Linked DNA regions of Homo sapiens: region 2 is linked to region 1. Evidence: promoter capture Hi-C in 16 types of primary human blood cells and fetal thymus (Javierre and others, 2016). All regions are on one chromosome and are shown on one strand. The core of a region is centred on a gene start or on the middle of the fragment in contact, and the rest is flanking DNA. Distances in the headings are between cores, read along the strand shown.

Region 1 (5,034 bases), core at 1,763-4,262:
TCAGGTGCGGTGGCTCACGCCTGTAATCCCAGCACTTTGGGAGGCTGAGGCAGGTGTATCACTTGAGGTCAGGAGTTCAAGACCAGCCTGGCCAACATGGTGAAACCCTGTCTCTACTAAAAAAAACAAAAAAACAAAAAAAACAAAATTAGCTGGGCAGGCCAGGCGCGGTGGCTCATGCCTGTAATCCCAGCACTTTGGGAGGCTGAGGTGGGCAGATCACACTGTCAGGAGATCGAGACCATCCTGGCTAACACGGTGAAACCCCGTCTCTATTAAAAATACAAAAAATTAGCCGGGCGTGGTGCGGGTGCCTGTAGTCCCAGCAACTTGGGAGGCTGAGGCAGGAGAATGGCGTGAACCTGGGAGGCGGAGCTTGCAGGGAGGCGGAGCTTGCAGGGAGACGAGATTGCCCCACTGCACTCCAGCCTGGGCAACAGAGCAAGACTCTCTCTCTCAAAAAACAAAAATTAGCTGGGCATGGTGACATGCACCTGTAGTCCCAGCTACTTGGCAGGCTGAGGCAGGAGAATCACTTGAACCTGGGAGGTGGAGGTTGCAGTGAGCCGAAATTACACCACTGCACTCCAGCCTGGCTGACAAAGTTAGACTCTGTCTTTAAAAAAAAAAAAAAAAATCAGAGAAGGGGAAGAAGGCAGTTTGCAGGGAACATGAAATATAAACAAGATCTGCACACAAAAAAAGAGCAAAACCAAGAGGTTTCCCTGGTTCTGAACTCTAGCCATTTTCTGAAGCCCTACTAGGTTTATGTCTTAAATAGCTGGAAACCACATATATGGAACCACATACATGATTTCATCTTACTCAGCCTTTTCCTAGTGGAAAATTCACAATGTTCATATTTTTAAAAGATCCAGGAAGCAAAAGGTTAAGAACTCCTGACCTAGAAAAAACTCTATACAGTGGCATACACTATGGAAAATGAAATTCAAAATAAGTCCTTTAATAATTCACATTTTTGCAGCATCTCAAATATATTTTCTGTTTATTTGGTCAAAAAACATATTCACGTTATAAAGAATGTCCCAAATAATGAGAATCCAAAAGAATCTCCTTTAGCTATTTAAAAACACAATCAACTACAACAACCCATTCTTATGCTTTCTGGTTAAATTGTATCTTGCTGTACATATAACTTCAGGTTAACATGGCAAGGTGAATAATAAATGGCTTATAAATCTCTTACTCAAAATCTTTGGGAACTGTTTTTCTTACTTTAATAAGATAAAGAATTGCTCACATATTCACCTATTCTATCAAAAGTATTTATAGAATGCCACTAGGTGCCAGGCACTGCATTTGGCCTTATCAGCTACTATGATTAATTCTTGGTTCTCCTCTAAATTATTGCCTCAATCTACAAATACAGATTAGAGCACATCCTATTTGTATGCTCCACAACTAACATAATGCCTGGTTCTTAGTGGAAACTTAATGTCGCTGAACTGTGTTATAATAAAACATCCAGAAGGCAGGCCGAATACGAAAGCAGTAGCTTCGCATTAAGAAAACTACCCCTAGCCAATTTTCTTAGTCAACCAGGCCACTACAGTATTAATGAAATCGAAATCTGTCACCAATACCAAAAAAAAAAAAAAAAAAAAAAAACCAAAACCAAAACGTCTAAACAAACGCCCTTCTGATAACAATTTCCTTGGACACATGAAAGCAAGCAATTCCTTATGCTAAAAAGACCTTCAACAACGTCAAGAATAGATGTTTCTAAAGCCTTTCGGTAAGGGGCCATACATAAGAATGGAAAAGTTGACTGATTGACAAGCAAATGATGTTCCCTATATTCATCTTGACAGTAGTTTCACACCAACTGTTCCAGAGGCAACATAAAAAAAAATAACAGAAATGAGGCCGGGCACGGTGGCTCACGCATGTAATCCCACCACTTTGGAAGGCCTAGGCGGGCAGACCACCTGAGTCGGGAGTTCGAGACCAGCCTTACCAAAATGGAGAAACCCCGTCTCTATTAAAAATACAAAATTAGCCGGGCATGGTCGCATGCCTGTAACCCCAGCTACTCGGGAGGCTGAGGCAGGAGAATTGCCTGAATCCGGGAGGCAGAGGTTGCGGTGAGCCAAGATCGCGCCATTGCACTCCAGCCTGAGCAACAAGAGCAAAAACTCCGTCTCAAAAAAAAAAAAAAAAAAAAACAGAAATGAGGCACAAAAGGAGGAAAGGGAGAAAATGCGTGCTGAGATAAGCATTTCGACTCAGGCTGAGGGAAACGCTCAAACAGTTACTGCAAATGACTAAAACAATCTGAGCCTTAAAACTTGGTTGTGCAAGTTCGGCTACTAGAGTTCATCATCTGTTATGGGCATTGTTCTTGAAAAAGTACCAAACAAACATCCTGCCTGCGGGCTTCTCCGGGTGGGTGCTACTAACCCTTTTAGTTAATTCTGTGACTCTGCGTTTAAAAGAAATAAAGAAAGAACAGGATGAACATCAACAAGTATTTAGGAGGGGCCTAGAGAGAACTTTTCACCCCTAGCCGCAGCCCAAGATCCTCCCACGGGAAGTGCCGTAGGACCGCAGCCCGAAAGAGCGCGGGAGGGGAGACTGGCCACGCCCGGATGCGCCGCGGACAGGGTCCTGGCCGGTCAGCCCGCGGGCCGCTGGCTTTGCTGCAGCCGCCCCGGCGCAGGGGAGGAGCGCCGAGAAAGGGCGGGGCCGGGCCTCACCTCCACGGCCTGGCCCAGCTCCAGGTCGAAGCCCACCACACACACGCAGTGCAGCCAGGCGGAGAAGCTGTCCCAGCGCAGCAGGCCCCGGCCACGGCCATCGTCCTCTTCATCGTCCTCTGGCGCGCCTCCCGCCGCCACAAGGGCCGGCGCCTCGCGGCCCTCGGCCCCTGCCACCGCTTCGTCCAACGGCCTTCGAGAGCCGGGCCCCAAGCCCGCAGGGCCCCTCAAAGCCATCGGCCGCCCCCTGACCGTTCGCGCCGCCTCCACAGCGGACCGCGCCGCAGAGCGCGCTTGCCTCCGCGCAGGCGCAGACGCTGCTGTCGCAGCCGCTGGGGACCCACTCAGTCCGGGCGGGGCTGCGGGTCACGTGACCCTGGGAGCGGACGTGGGGACGTCACGCTGCCGCTTGTCTCGGATTGTGAAGCCGGTCCTGGCTTCCTTGTCTAAAAGCTCTTTGGGACTGAAATGGCTGTTTATGAATCCTTGTCAACCTCGTTCGCAGTCAACGACCAGGGAATAAATTATTCGTGGAATGACACAGTTCATAATTATTATAAGGTATTATTAAATTATGAAAGCGTAGGCCGGGCGCGGTGGTTCACACCTGTAATCACAGCATTTTGGGAGGCCGATGCGGGCGGATCATCAGGTCAGGAGTTCGAGACCAGCCTGACCAACATGGTGAAACCCCGTCTCTACTAAAAATACGAAAAAATTAGCCAGGCGTGGTGGAGCGCGCCTGTGATCCCAGCTACTCAGGAGGCTGAGGCAGGAGAATCGCTTGAACCCAGGAGGTTACAGTTAGCTGAGATTGCGCCACTGTATTCTGTCTACCCTGGGCGACAGAGCGAGATTCCGTCTCAAAAAAATAAAAATAAAATATATGAACGCATAATGGTGACGGTGGCTAACATTGAACGCTTACTTTGTGCCAGTTGATATGCCAAGTACAAGTGCGAATACTTACAAATATTACCTTATTGAATCTTCACATAATCGCAAATAAGTAGACTATTTATTTCTTTTTACAGATAAGGAAATGGAGGTCCTGGAGGTTACATGACTAGCCCAACAAGTATGACAACTCCGATATCGGCTTGCGGTTCACTCATTCAGTTTGCTGATTCAGAGATCTGTGCATTCACTCACCTGTTCCTTCTCCAGCAAGGCCTCCCCACCCTACCACCTCCTCCTTTCTTAGTTTGGCTGTCTGTGACTCACTCAACACACATCCCCAGACCTTTCTGGAACTCCAGGTTGGGCAGATTGGCCTCCACAGCAACCTGTGGATCTCTGAACACTGGGGCAAGGGCCTGGTCTCAAGCAGCTTCGTATTCTGAGATCAGTTTTTACTGAGTATTGGACCAGCCAGGATACTAACTAGTATTTATTCAGCACCTACTATGTTGAGTATAAATAGCATAGTAAAAGTAGGAAACACACAATAATACCTCAACAGAAAAATGAGTAAACCAGCGAGGTGTCACGCCTGTAGTCCCAGGTTCTTGGGAAGCTGAGGCCGGCTAAGTTCAAGGAGGATCGCTTGAGCAGGAGTTCCAGGCTGCAGCGCGCTATGATCGCGCCTGCGAACAGCCATTGCACTCCAGCCTGGGCAACAGAGCGCGACTGTGTCTCTAAAAAACAACGCAAAACAAAAAACACGGCAGAACTTAAGCATTTTGCTGCACTGCCCAGTGAAATCCATTCCATTTGACAAATACTGCCCTCTTAACATTCTTAGAATTTTTTTTTGGAGCAAGTGTTAGCGTCCCTGTTTTCAAGGAGGTGGTCAAGTATGCACAGACATCAGTAGTGACGTTTGCTGGAGACTTCCTTTAGACAAAAATGAACTTAGGGACAGCACTTAAGTTAGAGGCCAAGTCTTTGGCCAAAGTAGCCTGCCATCCTACTCCAGAGAACTGCTGTGGTTAAAAGAGGAAAAACTGTATTCTGCGATCAAGTAAGGCTCTAAACCCAGTATTAGGAAAGAACAGTAGCCTTTTGTATTAGAAAGAACACTGGCGTGGAAGTCAAAAGTTCTGGATTCTAGTGCCAGCTAGAATCTACCACGATCGTGGTAGGCAAGCTGCTCCAAAACCCAGTTTCTGGTAAATGAGAGTGATGATTACTAACTCACCTCACTGACTGTTGGGAAAAGCTAAGCTATCCTAATGTACACATTTTACCAGATGCTACTTCATTATTAATTATTAATGATCTCAAAACACCAGTTGTGGCCAAGCACAGTGGGTCACACCTGTAATCCCAGCACGTTGGGAGGCTGAGGCGGTAGAATCACGTGAGTCCAGGAGTT
Region 2 (5,233 bases), core at 334-2,833, 450 kb before region 1:
TTGTCGTAAGCTTTCTCTGCCATGCTTAGTTTAGTTATTGTACCATTCTTAGTTACGTACAGAATTCTGTTTTCAATATGCAGTTTTTTTTTTTTTTGAGACAGTCTCTCTCTGTCACCCAGGCTGGAGTACAGTGGTGTGATCTTGGCTCACTGCAACCTCCCCCTCCCAGGGTGAAGCTATTCTCATGCCTCGGCCTCCCCAGTAGCTGGAATTATAGGTGTGTACCACTGCACCTGGCTAATTTTTTTTTCCATTTTTAATAGAGTCGGTTTCACCATGTTGGCCAGGCTGTTCTTAAACTCCTGACCTCAAGTGATCGTCCCGCCTCGGCCTCCCAAAGTGCTGGGATTACAGGCATGAGCCACCACGCCTGGGCTCAATGTGCATTTTGTAAATTATGTGGTTGGAAGTTAAACAGGAAAATTTGCTTAACCAGTATGTTGAAGGATTTCTAAAAGATCAGAAAACAGGAACATTAATGCTCAATTGCTTGTGATACTCAATTCCTTGGGTAGGCTCTTCTCCACAGCTCCTACTGAAGATAATACAAAATTAAGTAAATAATAGCAGATTATTTACTTAATTATTTAAATCTTTTCATTCAAAGGTGAAGTATGAAGTAACAGAAGATGTGTACACATCCAGAAAGAAACAACACCAGACCATGATGCATTATTTTTGTGCATTAAATACTCTTCAGTACAAGAAGAAAATAGCATTGTTAGAACCTCTACTTGGGTACATGCAAGCTCAGGTAAATACTGTACTGTATTTGGATTATAACTGTCCTAAAAGTTTTATATTAAGCTTGATATTTACATTAAGTATAAGGGTATTATAAACTATTTTCAACATCCTTGTTTATGTCTGTGTTTTAAGAAGTTATTTTTAAAATGTCATCAGACTATTATTTTAAGGAAGTTAGGAAGAATGGTTTTCCTTGCAAATGAAGATTTCAAATATTTTAGGTAAATGAAACCACTTGTTCACCATAGCTGGGGACTGAGAGAACTAAATGAATTTCAGAGTTACACCTATTGCTAGAGCTTCAACTAAACACTTGCTTCATAATAGATCTGAAAAAGAATAAACAAGTTTGAGTTTATCCCATATTCCTTGCATACTTCCTGAGTTAAAAATAATAGATGAACTCCAACGTGCCCAAAGAGTACATCAGGAAGGGGGCTAGAAAATTTGGGTAGTATAAGACAAAGTGTCAGTCTCCTAAAAATCAAGAGTTTAAAGAAAATTGAGGGCAGGCACGGTGCCTTATGCCTATAATCGAGCACTTTGGTAGGCCGAGGTAGGAGGATCATTTGAGTCCAGGAGTTTGAGACTAGCCTCAGCAACGTAGGGAGACCCCATCTCTACAAAAAATGAAAAAATTAGCTGGGCTTGGTAGCATGCCTCGGTGATCCCAGCAACTTGGGAGGCTGAAATGGAAGGATCCCTTGAGCCTAGGAGGCTGAGGCTGCAGTGAGGTTTTATTGTGCAGTCTGGATGACAGACGAGACCCTGTCTCAAAAAAAAAAAAAAAAATTGAATCTATTTAGGTAAAAGAGTACTTTACTGATTATTCCTCAGATAGAAAACTTATCTTTGTAGTAAACATGAAATACTTTATATAATTTATTGGAAATACTTTAAAATTTATTTTCCAATTTTAAAAGATTGTTAACCATATGTATATATTACTTGTTCCAATTCAAAAAATATAAAAGGATATGCAGTGGAATTTAAGTCTAACTTCCTTAATGGCTCCCTGTGCAGTAGAAGTCACAAACTACAATGTATTTTTACACAAATGGGAATATTCCTTTGTTTTTTACTTAACCATGTGTCTTAGAGATTGTTTATATGATTTACTTTAAGTATTGCTTAATCTATTTTTGTATTGTTCAATTCCCCCCACTCCCCACTCTCCAGATAAGTTTCTTTAAGATGGGTTCTGAAAATCTTAATGAACAACTGGAAGAATTTTTAGCTAATATTGGAACAAGCGTTCAGAAGTAAGTATTTTTTTCCTTAAAATTGAAAATGAAATGATGTGAATGATAACAGCTCAATGACATAATGTAAAGATATTTATCATTTACTTTCCTGAGGGAATATTTTCCCTGCCATGAGAGTTTCTTATGTGGTTCATGGTTACTTCTTGTTTTTTTTTAACCTCTTTTTTCCACAGATTGTGAACTTTGAATTTCATAATAGTGATAATTTTATTGATTCTACACTCAGTTTTATGTCTGAATATAACAGACACATAATAGTAACTCCCCATAAGTGAAATTATCTTTAAACTTGAAATTGTGGGAGTTTGATGGGAGATTACTAAATATTGTTTCCAAGCCATGAAAGCTTAGAGAGAAAGCAGTTCTTATCAGGTTCAAAATGCCGAGCAGTGTATGTGGTCAGTCCACGGTATGGAGAGAGATGAAAGTGATTGTTGTTTTAAAGGCACAGGGCAGAACAGTTTGAAAATTACGCCAAAATCAGGCATTCGGGGGGCTTCATTTGTTTTTTGAATTTAGTATTGTTTCCAAAATATCTAAGTTTCAAATAAACTGTAAACCTGTTTTAAAATATATTCGTGTTGTTTTAACCACCCATGCCGCTCTTCCTCTCTTTAAGAAAACATACCCGAAACAAATATGCAGGTAAACATGATTGGTAAGGAGTTCTTTATTGGTTGTGATTTGTAGCAAATAATCTGTTCTGTGTCAGTGTTCGCAGGGAAATGGACAGTGATATAGAGACCATGCAACAGACAATAGAGGATTTGGAAGTAGCCAGTGATCCCTTATATGTGCCTGACCCAGACCCCACCAAATTTCCTGTTAATCGAAATTTAACCCGAAAGGCTGGATACCTTAATGCTAGGAAGTAAGAAAACTATTGTTATTTTTGTATATTGTGTATCATGTAAGACAATACCAAATGAATATAGTAAATAATTGATGTCTGTCATATTTTGATTTTTATTAAAGGTTGAAACTTTTTAGAGGTGTTAGTATTTATGTGAACTTTTTGACAGATGAAGTACATGAATACTTTTCAGAAGTAAAATCCTACCTAGATATTTATTGAATAATGTAGAATGATAAAAGAAGTGAAACCAGGGCTGGGCATGGTGGCTCACGCCTGTGATCCCAGCACTTTGGGAGGCTGAGGCGGGCGGATCACCTGAGGTCAGGAGTTCGAGACCAGCCTGGCCAACATGGTGAAACCCCACCTCTACTAAAAATACAAAAATTAGCTGAGCATGGTGGCTTACACCTGTAATCCCAGCTACTCAGGAGGCTGAGACACGAGAATCACTTGAACATGGGAGGCAGAGGTTGTGGTGAGCCGAGATCCCACCACTGCACTCCAGCCTGAGGGACAGAGTGAGACTCTGTCTCAAAAAAAAAAATGAAGTGAAACTAATTTGAGTTTAAATAAATATTCACATATTGTATCATAACATGAGAATGCTATGAAATATCATTTATCCTACTTTAATATATTTGTAATTATAGCACCAAGTCAAATGTTAGTTTTCACCTGATGATAGGATGAAGCAGGTTAACCCTAGAAATAAAATAAATTCTGTTGTTTTGAATTTACTCCCTTGGAAATTGAACTATAACCTATATTTTATGGATCATTATTATAACAGCCACAGTTTGATAATTTCCAGCCTTGTTTTGGAAACTGTATACACATTCACAAAAGTGAGTCAACATACATGAATTTATTTTAGAGACTGAAAGCATATTTATATTTATTTTCTTGGCATCTTGGTGCCTCTTCGCAAGCCAGTTCATTGTAACATGCTTTATCTTGTGTCTAGCTGATGATGAGATTTCAGGTATGTTGTTATTAAAGAGTGAATGTGCTTTCTTCATTCAGTAAAACAGGCTTGGTGTCATCTACCTGGGACAGACAGTTTTACTTCACGCAGGGTGGAAATTTAATGAGTCAGGCCCGTGGGGATGTAGCAGGAGGCCTGGCCATGGACATAGACAACTGTTCAGTGATGGCTGTGGACTGTGAAGACAGACGATATTGTTTTCAGATCACCTCTTTCGATGGAAAAAAGTTAGTATTTTTTTTCTACTACTACTAATCTATAGTATATTAAACTTCTGAAATGTGAGATAATTCCTTTTTGTTTAGAAATTTTATGGACATTTTAGGTTCATTATGTATTAAGATAAATTGCTTTTTAATCTTGTAGAAATATATTGAATTTTTGTCTCTGGCTTGGTTAAATGGTTTCTTGATATTTTGAAGTTGTCAAAGCAATGTCATATAGTAAAGACCTGTGATTTCATGTTAGGGAACTGGAACTGAAAATCCTGCATAGTATCAGGGAAGACAGAACAAGTTAATGGAAAGAGTCCTAAACCTGGGGTCAGAAGGATCAAACTCTGGATCCATTACTTACTGTGTGGTCTCAGACAGTACAGTAATGTCTGTAACCCCTCTCCGCTCCATTTTTCTTCATGTAAAATGTGAATGGGGGGGGGTTGTAATCCCTATCGTAAATTGTTGTGAGGAACAGAAATTCTAACATATGTAATGTGACTGACATATAGTAGGTGCTAACAATAGTGTTATTTTAAAATGTTAATCAAGTATTTCTGATCAGATTATTTTTCCATTAATGTTTATAATACCATTTAAAAAATTTCTGTTACCTTTTTTTGAGGCGGGGTCTTACTGTGTCTCCCTGGCTGCAGTGCAGTGGTGTAAACATGGCTCACTGTAGCCTCAACCTCCTGGGCTCAAGGGATCCTCCTACCTCAGGATCCCAAGTTGCTAGGATCACAGGTGCATGCCACTGTGCCTGGCAATTAAAAAAAATTTTTTTGTAGAGATGTCTCATCATGTTGCCCAGGCTGGTCTCGAACTCCTGGACTTAAGTGATCTTCCTGCTTTAGCCTCCCAAAGTGCTGGGATCATAGGCATGAGCCAGCATGTCCAGGCTTCTATTACCTTTGCATTAAATGAGAATCTTTAAAGTAGCATTTAAAAGAAATTTTCAAAAAGCATGGAAAATGTAAAAAGGAGTATGAAAAAATCCTACTGTCTTATTAATCAAAAGCGACAATTAACTTTTTTGTCCATTGCCTTCCAATTTTTAACTTAAGTACATTTTTAAAATAGTTGAAGAAATACTATAATTTGGATTTGCAGCCACCTATTAAAAACATGTTATAATGGCTATTCTATAATCTATTTAAGG

The links. The method cuts DNA at HindIII sites, captures the fragments that hold promoters and counts their contacts. A CHiCAGO score of 5 or more calls a contact.
Region 2: a fragment that was not itself captured here is called in contact with the fragment with the promoter of DENND6A in region 1 in 2 of 17 cell types (naive B cells and erythroblasts); the score reaches 5.8 in naive B cells.

What each region holds. Positions count from the first base shown.
Region 1 is chr3:57,690,065-57,695,098 of GRCh38, forward strand. It overlaps DENND6A (DENN domain containing 6A), which reads right to left and starts at 3,013. Exons shown (of 20, transcript NM_152678.3): 1 at 2,718-3,013. The coding sequence starts at 2,954. DENND6A-DT (DENND6A divergent transcript) reads left to right here and starts at 3,141. Exons shown (of 2, transcript NR_135550.1): 1 at 3,141-3,278; 2 at 3,752-5,034. RefSeq lists an enhancer at 2,341-2,841 and silencers at 2,563-2,802, 2,913-3,012. The HindIII fragment of the contact is 17,962 bases long and covers 1-5,034 here.
Region 2 is chr3:57,245,466-57,250,698 of GRCh38, forward strand. It overlaps APPL1 (adaptor protein, phosphotyrosine interacting with PH domain and leucine zipper 1), which reads left to right. Exons shown (of 22, transcript NM_012096.3): 8 at 611-757; 9 at 1,930-2,012; 10 at 2,728-2,886; 11 at 3,895-4,083. Among named protein-coding and RNA genes, the nearest start is that of APPL1, 20 kb to the left of the region's middle. The HindIII fragment of the contact is 1,551 bases long and covers 809-2,359 here.